Linked DNA regions of Homo sapiens: region 1 is linked to region 2. Evidence: promoter capture Hi-C in 16 types of primary human blood cells and fetal thymus (Javierre and others, 2016). All regions are on one chromosome and are shown on one strand. The core of a region is centred on a gene start or on the middle of the fragment in contact, and the rest is flanking DNA. Distances in the headings are between cores, read along the strand shown.

Region 1 (4,930 bases), core at 1,591-4,090, 39 kb after region 2:
CTTTCCGTGGGGGGGAAAGGGGAATCATTAGGGCATTCCTTACATCCCGGCTGTCTGGCAAACTTAAATGGGTTACACCTGGAGCCACTGGCCCCACTTAGTAACCCGAGGATACTCGTGGATGCAGGCTGCTTTCCTGACCCCGAATTCGGTGCCCACGAAACAGCCTCTCAATCTGAGGACAGGATTTTCACATTGTCCCTGTGCATCTGAGAAGAGCCCGCTTCCCCTTCAGGAGACGGAGTGTATGGACGGCCTCTGGCCTTAGACAGTTCTGCAGGCCAAGCCCTCTGGCCTCTGCCACTCATTAGCTGGGCCCGTTACATAACTTCCCTGGGCTCTGCCATCGGCCTTCCCACCAGCAGAAGCTGCAAGGCTCGGAAGGGCATGACGTCACTTGCAGGGCATTCTATTGGCCATCGTGAGTCACAGGCCCGCCCAGATTCCAGGGTGTGGAAGAGACTCCGCCTCTCCGTGAGAGTTGCTGTTAAGTCACATTGCAAGGGGGTGTGAACTCAGGGAGTGGAACAATTGTGGCCATTTTTTTGTTGTTGTTGCAAACAATCTACCACACAGGGACGGCTGCATTTAATCCTCACAGCAACCCCACTGGCCAGATAGAGAAACTGAAGCACAAAGAGGTGAAGATCCTCGGCCCCATCAGGAATTGCCAGGGCATAAACCCTGGTCTGCCTGCCTCCAGAGTCTGGGCTCTCGTTCCTACCCTCAGGGGCTGGCCTGTGTGCTGGGACCCCGAGGCACATGGCCCAGTTCTTGCCCCATTGCCCATCAGTGCTCAGCTCCCAGTTACCGCAGTCACCCTAAGGCACCTGGAAAACGGAGGGAAGCAGGAACAGGTTTGCTTCTGGTGCCTCCGCCTGCCCTGGAGAAGTCCAGTCCTTCCTCTTCCCTGCAGAGGAAGCTTACAGTTTTATCTGAGTCCTTTTCGCTGTGTGCTAAGCTTCAGGGTTACAGACAGGCTGCTCCCTTTGGTGGCCTTTGTTGGAATGCCATCAGTGTGTACCTTAGGTTCATAAATAATTCAGACTGGCAGCTACCCAGGAAGGAAGCAAACGCCCAGAGCTCACAGCCGAGACAGGTTACAACAAGAATGCGGTGAGCAATGCTGCCGATGGAGAAGCAGGGAGGCAGGAATTCAGGGAACACTTGCCAGCTCCCAGATTTCCAGGTGGGCTCGGGACCACGCTTGTCTTGCAGAAGCTGCGTGCCTGGCCCCCAGCATGCTCAGGGTGGACATGGGTGGCTAACCCAGCACCCTCCCCAACCTTCTTCTCCCCTGCCTGCTTCCATCCAGAGGATGGAGAGCTAAACACTCACCATCCCACAGTCCCCTGCAGACAGAGGTGACTCAGAGATGGCCTTGACAAAAGATCCAAGAACTGCTGACATCCTGGCTCTGACAACGTGAACCTCAGAAGCCCCCAGCAGAGACATGGCTCTAGTCTTCTTGTGATGGGAGAAGGACAGTCCCTACGTGTTTAAGTCACGGTGGATGAGTTTATTCTGTGACTTGCAGTCCAGTGCCTCCTGATAGTGACAGAAATCGCCAAAGTTCTGACTTGCTTTTTCCGGCCTGCTTTTATTCTGCTCACTCTAACAGAGCCAAGCATTTGGCCAGTGTTCCAGTCTCTCCTGTGGCCCTGAACACCACCTCAACGGTTTCCTGTTTACTTTACCTCTTAGGCTGCTAGAATTAACCACTTGCCATTATGCCCCTGCGTCTCCCTACGGCCCCTCCCTCATGGTCTTGCCACCACACCGAGCTAATTTCTTTTGTATTTTTTGTAGAGATGGGGTTTCGCCCTTTTGCCCAGGCTGGTATTCTTGGGCTCAAGCCATCCTCCTGCCTCGGCCTCCCAAAGTGTTGGGATTCTAGACGTGAGCCATGGTACCCGGCCAGCAAAGATTTCTTAGAGACAACATCAAAAGTATTCGATGTTTAAAAACAAAAACTAAAACCATAAATTGGACTTTGTCAAAGTGAAGAGGTTCTTCTGCTTTTGAAAGACATTGATAAATGAATGAAAAGACAAACCACAGGAGAAAATACTTGCAAATCACCCATCTGATAAATGACTTGTAGCCATATAGATAAAGATTGCTTGAAACTCAACAGTAAGAAAACAAAGAACCTAATTTTTTAAAAAAAGAAGAGAATAGGCCAGGCACAGTGGCTCACACCTGTAATCCCAGCACTTTGAGGGGCTGAGGTGGGTGGATCACCTGAGGTCAGGAGTTTGAGACCAGCATGACTAACATGATGAACCCCTATCTCTACTAAAAATACAAAAATTAGCCGGGCATGGTGGCAGGTGCCTGTAATCCCAGCTACTCAGGAGACTGAGGCAGGAGAATCACTTGAACCCAGGAGGCAGAGGTTGCAGTGAGACAAGATCGCGCCATTGCACTCCAGCCTGGGTGACAGAGTGAGACTCCGTCTCAAAAAATAAAAATAAAAAAAAGAGAAAAGAATAGATACTTCACCCACCATATAGAAATGGTAAATAGCACATGAAAAGAGATTCAGCAGCATCAGTCATTAAGGAAACACAAATTAAGACTACAGTGGCTATTACTACAAGCAGCTTAGAATAACTGCAAGAAGAGCTCCCACACCAAGTGTTGGCGAGGATGTGTAGAGACCAGAACTCTCACACCCTGTGGTTAGGAATGTAAAATGGTACAACCGCTTTAGAAAACAGTCCCAGCTACTCGGGAGGCTGAGGCAGGAGAATGGCGTGAACCCGGGAGGCGGAGCCTGCAGTGAGCCGAGATGGCGCCACTGCACTCCAGCCCAGGCGAGAGTGCCAGACTCTGTCTCAAAAAAAAAAGAAAAAAAAGAAAGAAAAAAGAAAACTGACGGTTTCTTGACAATTAAACACACAGCTACCACATGACCCCATTGTTCTGCTCCGAGGTATTTATCCAAGAGAAAAGTCTGTGCCCAAGTGAAGACTTTTGCATAAATAAGCAAAAGTCATAGCAGCTTTATTTGTAATAGCTACAAATAGAAAAAACCCAAATGTCCATCAATGGGTGAGATGGATAAAGGAACTGCAGTATAACCACACAATGGAAGGAGGCATATGCTGACTATCTTGTTGTTGATGCTGAACATCTTGAGCACATGTTCAAGACTTGCACATGTGTCAACACATGTGAGTTGCACACTTTAAACATGTATAGTTTATTATATGGCAATTATACCTCAATTACGTTGTTTAAAAGATGCTTTCGATGCTTTCGAGATTATTAGTAATTGGGGTCAGGGCTCAGGGGAGGGTCAAAAGAAAACTTTTTAGAGTGATGAAAATGTTCTATTTCTTGATTGTGGTGATGGTTACACTACAGCTACCAATTGCTAAATTAAAATAGGTGGATTTTGTTGGATATAAATTATAACTCAATGAAGCTGAAGAAAAATAAATTTCCACTGAAATATCTTGGTATATAAGGACAAGGGGAAAATACTCTAGGGGTGTGTAATTTTTGTTTCTAGTAAAGTGAAAATTGTAATTGGAGAGAAAAAATTAAATGCTCTTTCAAAAAGTAAAAAATAACATATGTTTACATTAAAGCAAAAAACAAATGCCTTCTTTGTTGTATTGATTATCTGGATATTAAAAAGCAATTACAAGCATAATTATTATTATTTTTTTTTTTTGAGACATAGTCCAGCTCTGTCGCCCAGGCTAGAGTGCAGGGGCGTGATCTCAGCTCCCTGCAGCCTTGACTTCTCAGGCTCAAGCAATTCTGTCATCTCAGCCTCCCGAGTAGCTGGGACCACAGGCATGCACCACTATGCCCAGCTAATTTTTTCATTTTTATTTTTATAGAGATAGTGTCTCCCTATGTGGCCCAGGCTGGTCTCAAACTCCTGGGTTCAAGAGATCTCCCACCTTGGCCTCCTAAAGTCCTGGAATTACAGGCGTGAGCCATCGTGCCCGGCCTGAATAATTTTTCTTGATACCTATTCACATTCTTCAATCAGTTTTTAAGCCTTATTTGTTTCTATTGCCATTAGTGGCATTTTTCAGAAGAATGTGCTATTTTCAGAATTGCCTTATTTTAATCTTTCATAAAATTGCCTGGAATCCTCTCCAAGAAGACATTTTTGTGGCTAATGAATTTGAGTTTGCCGACCAGCTAAGTGGAATCTTCTCTGTAGACCCTGAGGTTGTCAGATGAATGAGCAGCTGTAGAGGTAAGATCTGAGCTGACTCTGCTCAGGGGAAGACAGTCTCAGTATTTTCTAATGAAAAGGTCAATATTTCACCCAGATATTGTCACAGGTCCTGTGTTCTGAGTTCAATCCAAAGTCTTTCATAAATGTCTTTATAGGGCAAAATGAGTCAAATAGGCTTTTTTCATGTATAATTCCTTTGAATGTTTTATCAAATTTATGTGCTAAAAATCACAGGCCTTTTCAATTTCATTCCATTCTCATATATAATAAACATACATACTATTAAAATATGAGCTCTAGCAAAAATCTGTTTCATAAATTGAGATGCTCCAAGAAGCAATTTTAGAATTCCAAAGTTATTCTCATACACTATTTGGGTAGACATTATGCGTTTTATTCAGTTTCTCTCTTTCTTTTGTGGTAAGAAATTTAAATAGTCTTTCTGTTTGCAAACTTGCTTTTAATAATTGCTAATAATTAAAACAATAATAATTGTTTTTAATAAAAGCTTTACATTTATTTAATGATTTGAATAAAAATTAAGTCATTATTCAAATTAACTGAATGAGCTTTTCTGTTGGAAGCATCTGATAATACACATATTACATCCATATCACTTAACTGTCTTGTGAAATTGGGCTCATGGAGGTAACACAATAACAGCTATCACGTCATCGAGTAAATTCATAAGAAAACTCAAAGTTGACAAAGAAGGAAATTAAT
Region 2 (5,009 bases), core at 202-2,701:
CTAAGTTGTGGGCACTGGAGGGATGGAGGCCTTTAGGCTGCACCAAGTTACCTGCCTCGGCTTCTGGTTCCTCAACTATAAAACCAGATGGTCAGAGTAGGGAGCCTCGAGGGTCCCGTCCAGGTCTACAGGTGGATAACCTGTGCGCAGAGGCCACACTGTGAGAGAAGACCTGGTGGAGGATGTTTCCCGTGTCACAGCTGCAAGTAGGAAGAGTGTGAATCCCTGTGAATCGGCAGAGAAGAGCAAGGGGAGGGTTCAGGTGTAGGTGGGGGCGGGAGGGAGGATTAGGGGGAGGTGGTGTCAGTTTCCCAAGGCTGCTGTAATGAATATCCACAGACTTGGAGGCTTAAACAACACACACTGTCTTATGGTTCTCAAAATCAGAATGCTGAAATGGGTCTTGCGGGGTAAAATCTGTGAACAGTCATTTCTTCCCTCTCCAGGCCCTGATGGGGGAAGGGGCTCCTGGGCCAGTGTCAGCAGGGCCGGGTTCTTCTGGAGGCTCAGGGGAGAAGCTGCCTTCCTGTCTTTTCAGCTTCCAGAGGCCGCCTGCACGCCTCAGGGTCCCCGCAGCAGACCACATCACTCCAACCTTCGCTTCATCCTTGCATCTCCTCCTCCGCCTCCCTTCCTCCCTCTCATAAGGACCCTAGGATGACACTGGACCCCCCGACTGACCCAGGAGAATCTCCGCAACATGTGGGGAGGTGGAGTGATTGTGCAAAGCAGAGTGAGGTGGTGTTGCTGGAAGACTCGAATCACATCTGCAGGATCTCTGCGGAAGCTCTGGGGATAAGATTTGGCATCTTTGCAGTGGCCGTTATTCTGCCCACCGCAGGGGCCCCCATCTGATGATAGAGAAAAGGCACATAGAAGATGCTCGGAAACACGTGTTGAGTGAAAGAGTGAGTGGCTGTGTGGAGCCGAGACTAGGTTGGTCTGTGCAGGAGGTGTAACAAGAGCTGCATCTTGTATTTCTGCCTGCCTTCCTGCCTCTGCCATTGACTGGAGGTCAGCAGGTCTGACAGTTCCAGAAATAGAACTTCTGCTCTGATCTGATCCACACGAAGGTGAAGGTCAGGTGCAGGATCCTCCGCCCCCACCTTGTGGTTTCTGGGGGTGCTGAGCCAGGGCCCCACCTCTGCCCTGGGGGACACCCCCTGCCAAGTTTGCTTGGAGGCTCCTTTGAGCTCAGGCACGCCCAAGAGCCAGAAGGAGAGGACTTGTAAAGACAGGGACTGTAACCCCAGGCAGGCCTGTGTCCTGGCCCTTAGGGAAGGAATAATGAGTAGACTATTGTGTAAGAAAGATGAGAATCAGGCAGATAAAGGGCCCAGTGAAGCTGCCTGCCCCACTCCCTACCCCCAGGACTGAACCTTGGACCCCACCTAACATTCCAGCTCCACTGCGGTGCCCTGGTCTCCATGACAACCGGGAATCATTTTACAAATAGAAGATTGTGGATCCCTGGGAACGCAGAGGTGAGGAAGTCTCAGGAGTAAAGGTTTCATTTACGGCACCTTGGTGCGAAGGTGTCAGGCCAGGCCTTGGAGCCAAATTCTATGCAGAATGACCAAGTGCCGAGAGCAGAAAACACGGGCTATGTTCCTGACCCTTTGCCTGTTAGCCGTGTGGCTCTGGTTCTGGAGTGAAGGGAGCAGCAGGATGCTCTGGGCCTTAAGTGACAGAATTCCTAACTCTCTGAGACCAGAGCAAGGCTTTGGAAAGGCTGGAGGGAAGCCATTAAGTCGGTGAGGTTTTCCTGGCTTGCCCCATGGAGGCAAGATGGCTGCAGGGACTCCAGGCATCACGTCCATTGAGGACAACATCCAATGCACAAAGGAGGGCAGGTGGCAAAGGGGCTTCTCCTCTCACAGCTCTTTATCACAAACTGCTGCCTCCTCCAGCATCCCTCAAAGACCGCTTTGTTTCCCATCAGCAGGAATGCGTGGCAGGAAGGAATCTCCCAGGGATTCACAGTTCACCCCTAAATCAATCCGTGGGGCCCGAGGGGCAAAGTATCTGAGTGACCCAGCCCTCAGTCTTGTGTCCGTTCCTGAGAAGGAGCTCAGCCTTGCCCCTCAGGAGCTGCATGTACCAAATGTGAGTGTGTGTGTGCCTGAGTGTGCCTCTTCACCTCAGTGAGTGTGTCCATGTGTGAAAGCAGATGTTTGTATGTGCACAGGTGTGTGCTGTGTGCATACAAAGCGGGGGCAGGGCATGTGGGGATGTTGTACCTGAGCGAGTTAGAAAAACGCCACACTTTGAGATGAATTAGGAGTCCTCTATTAGCTGGCAACCAAGAGACAGCTAACGCTCAAAATTCTCTTGGCCCCGAGGAAGGGGCTTGATTAACTTTTACATCTTGGTTTAGGAAGGGGAGGGGGGTCTAGTTAGAACAATTTTACAGAAGTTAAGTAGTCAAAAAGTTAAAAGGACAAATGGTTACAGGAAAGTAAACAGTTCCAGGTGCAGGGGCTTTAAGACTATTACAAGGTGATAGACGCGGGGCTTCGGGCGTTATCATTCGGACAAATTCCTGGGAACTGCGGATCTAGCTCGCCACAGTATCTTATCAGTTAACTGCATTCTTGGATGTGCTGGGAGTCAGCTTGCACAAGTTAAGTCCTTGAGGAAGGGGCTGCCGGTGAAAGAGCCAAGATGGAGTTTGTGTGACTCTCTCAGCTAAGGGAGAAGCAAGGCTAGGTGAATAAAGGAAAAACAAGGTTGGGCATTACACGGAGGTGGAGTGATTGTGTAAAGCAGAGTGAGGTGGTGTTGCTGGAAGACATGGATGGAGGCATGACACAGACTGTCCACTGCAAAAACCATGGACGGAGGAGGCGTCACACAGACTGTCCACTGCAAAGACCACAGATGGAGGCGTGACACAGACTGTCCACTGCAGAGACCATGGACGGAGGCAGCCTCCGAGCCAGCCCAGCAGCCATGGACGGAGGAGCCTTGGAGCCAGCCCAGCAGCTCTCCTGTGAGTGGGGCCGGCACTGTCCCCAGCATTTGTGCCACCGGTGCTGTAGAAGGGCGGGGAGACAGCACATGGGGACTTGCCATTCCCGTTCTGTTCCGCAGCACTGGAGGGGTGGACGGGACAGGACCGGCTGCTCATTCCACGCTGGAGGGAGGCCAGGAGTCTCAGCTGGATGCAGTCACCTGACCTGGAGAGTTCAAAGTGCCTAACACAGGTGCTCACCCCTCTTCCCCCTCACCCCTGTCTGGACCTGGGACATGGAGCCTTCCTCTAAGTCTGGTCTCCCCGCTCCTCCAGGAAGGTCCTGGAGGGGATGGCCTGGGATGGGCTAGGACCCGGTTCCCACCTCAGGAGGCCTCTGGCCATGGAAGTGCTAAGGTGCCTAGTATCCGTCTGTCCGGGTGACTCTGGCTTGGGGGTTGGGTGGCCTTGCCTGCGTCCAGCGACATGGGGAGGTGTGTGTGGAAAACCAGATGCCACCTCACTCACATGGCGCGGGGCGGTGGCTGGGGGTTGGAGGTGATGGCTACTGGTTCCTCCCCCACTGGGGACCATTTCCAGGGATGCTGCTACCCACAAGCCTGGATCCTGGCGTGCTCCGCGGCTCTCCTTCAAGCCCTGGCCTCATCAGACCTCCAAGGCTCCCTAGACAGGGTTAATTATTCACGTGGCCTGGGACCCAGGTACAAAGTCTTCTCCTTCCCACATCTGCAGAAGCTGCTCTTGTGGATGGGGCTCCAAGGAGGAGAGGGCAATTGTTTTATTTTAATCATTAAAACATTTTCTGGGATATACGTGTTGGTTGAAAACAATTAGAAGGTATAGAAAAGTATAAACAAAAAATTAAAGACAAGCCAGGTGCTGTGGCTCACGCCTATAATCCTAGCACTTTGGGTGCCCAAAGCAGGCAGATCTCCTGAGGTCAGGAGTTCAAGACCAGCCTGGCCAACATGGCAAAACACCATCTCTACCAAAAACACAAAAATTAGCTGGGCATGATGGCGAATGTCTGTAATCCCAGTTGCTTGGGAGGCTGAGGCAGGGGAATCGCTTGAACCCGGGTGGCAGAGGTTGCAGTGAGCTAAGATCATGCCACTGCATTCCAGCCTGGGCAACAGAGTGAGACTCAGTCTAAAAAAAAAAAAAAAAATTAAAGACAAAAAATTGAAAACCACCTGTAAGCCCATCATTCAGAGACAGGCACTACTAACAACTCATGGTGTTTCCTTCCAGGGTTCGTTTGTTTGTTTTTCCCGACACAGTAGGGTCCACGAGGAAGTCAGGATCCACCGGCAATATTTGCAGTGTTATGTTGAATGTGGCAACTGGCTGCGTGAGGATAGAGAAGTAAACAGCATGTCCGGTGGCAGTCGGTTACCACACAGAATTTAGGAGGCCCAGTGAAATGCAAATGCTAGGTAAGTGACACGTAAGTTTTTGATATAAGCATATCCCAGGCAACATTTATTTATTGGAAATTGAAACTCACATTTAACCGGCCATATTATTTTTTTTAAATTTTTTTGTTCTCTAAATCTATCTTTTGTTTGCCGAATTTCTAGCAACCTTAGATGGAGAGGTGGCTCTGAGATTAGCATCCCCACAGGCCCACCTCTGGCTGGAGAGACAAAGGGAGGTGGGGTGCTGCCGGGGAGGGAGAGCCAAGGTCTACTTCCACGCCGCTCCCAGACCTGGGGCCAGAGGCCCGCTTGCTGGGGGCTGGGGCTCAGAGGGGAGCGAGCGGCTGCTGTCAGGCTGTCTGAAAATGCTGTGCGGATTCCCCGATTTTCTCTCGCCTGGCAGGTCACCTGGCCCACACTCTCCTCCCCTGATCCCCTGAGTGCTCCCCTCCCCCTGCAGGTCCCCCTCCCCTCTGGGTGAGCCTGGATGCCAGCACCCTGTTCCGCCCGCCCAGCATGCAGAACAAAAGCACAACGCACAGAAACACAGCCGGTGCGCGCAGGGCGGCAGGCTGGCTTCTCCCTCCCTCCTGCCGAGGTCTCCGGCCCCTTCCCCC

What was found. The method cuts DNA at HindIII sites, captures the fragments that hold promoters and counts their contacts. A CHiCAGO score of 5 or more calls a contact.
Region 1: a contact is called between a fragment that was not itself captured here and the fragment with the promoter of LINC00479 in region 2, in 1 of 17 cell types (M2 macrophages). The highest score is 5.2, in M2 macrophages.

What each region holds. Positions count from the first base shown.
Region 1 is chr21:41,674,624-41,679,553 of GRCh38, reverse strand. LINC00111 (long intergenic non-protein coding RNA 111) reads right to left here and starts at 252. Exons shown (of 3, transcript NR_024367.1): 1 at 44-252. RefSeq lists an enhancer at 257-406. The HindIII fragment of the contact is 3,754 bases long and covers 964-4,717 here.
Region 2 is chr21:41,712,217-41,717,225 of GRCh38, reverse strand. LINC00479 (long intergenic non-protein coding RNA 479) reads left to right here and starts at 1,451. Exons shown (of 6, transcript NR_027272.1): 1 at 1,451-1,484; 2 at 1,943-2,106; 3 at 2,874-2,992; 4 at 3,094-3,206; 5 at 3,554-3,675; 6 at 4,226-5,009. LINC00112 (long intergenic non-protein coding RNA 112) reads right to left here and starts at 790. Exons shown (of 3, transcript NR_024028.2): 1 at 682-790; 2 at 52-225. The HindIII fragment of the contact is 7,368 bases long and covers 1-5,009 here.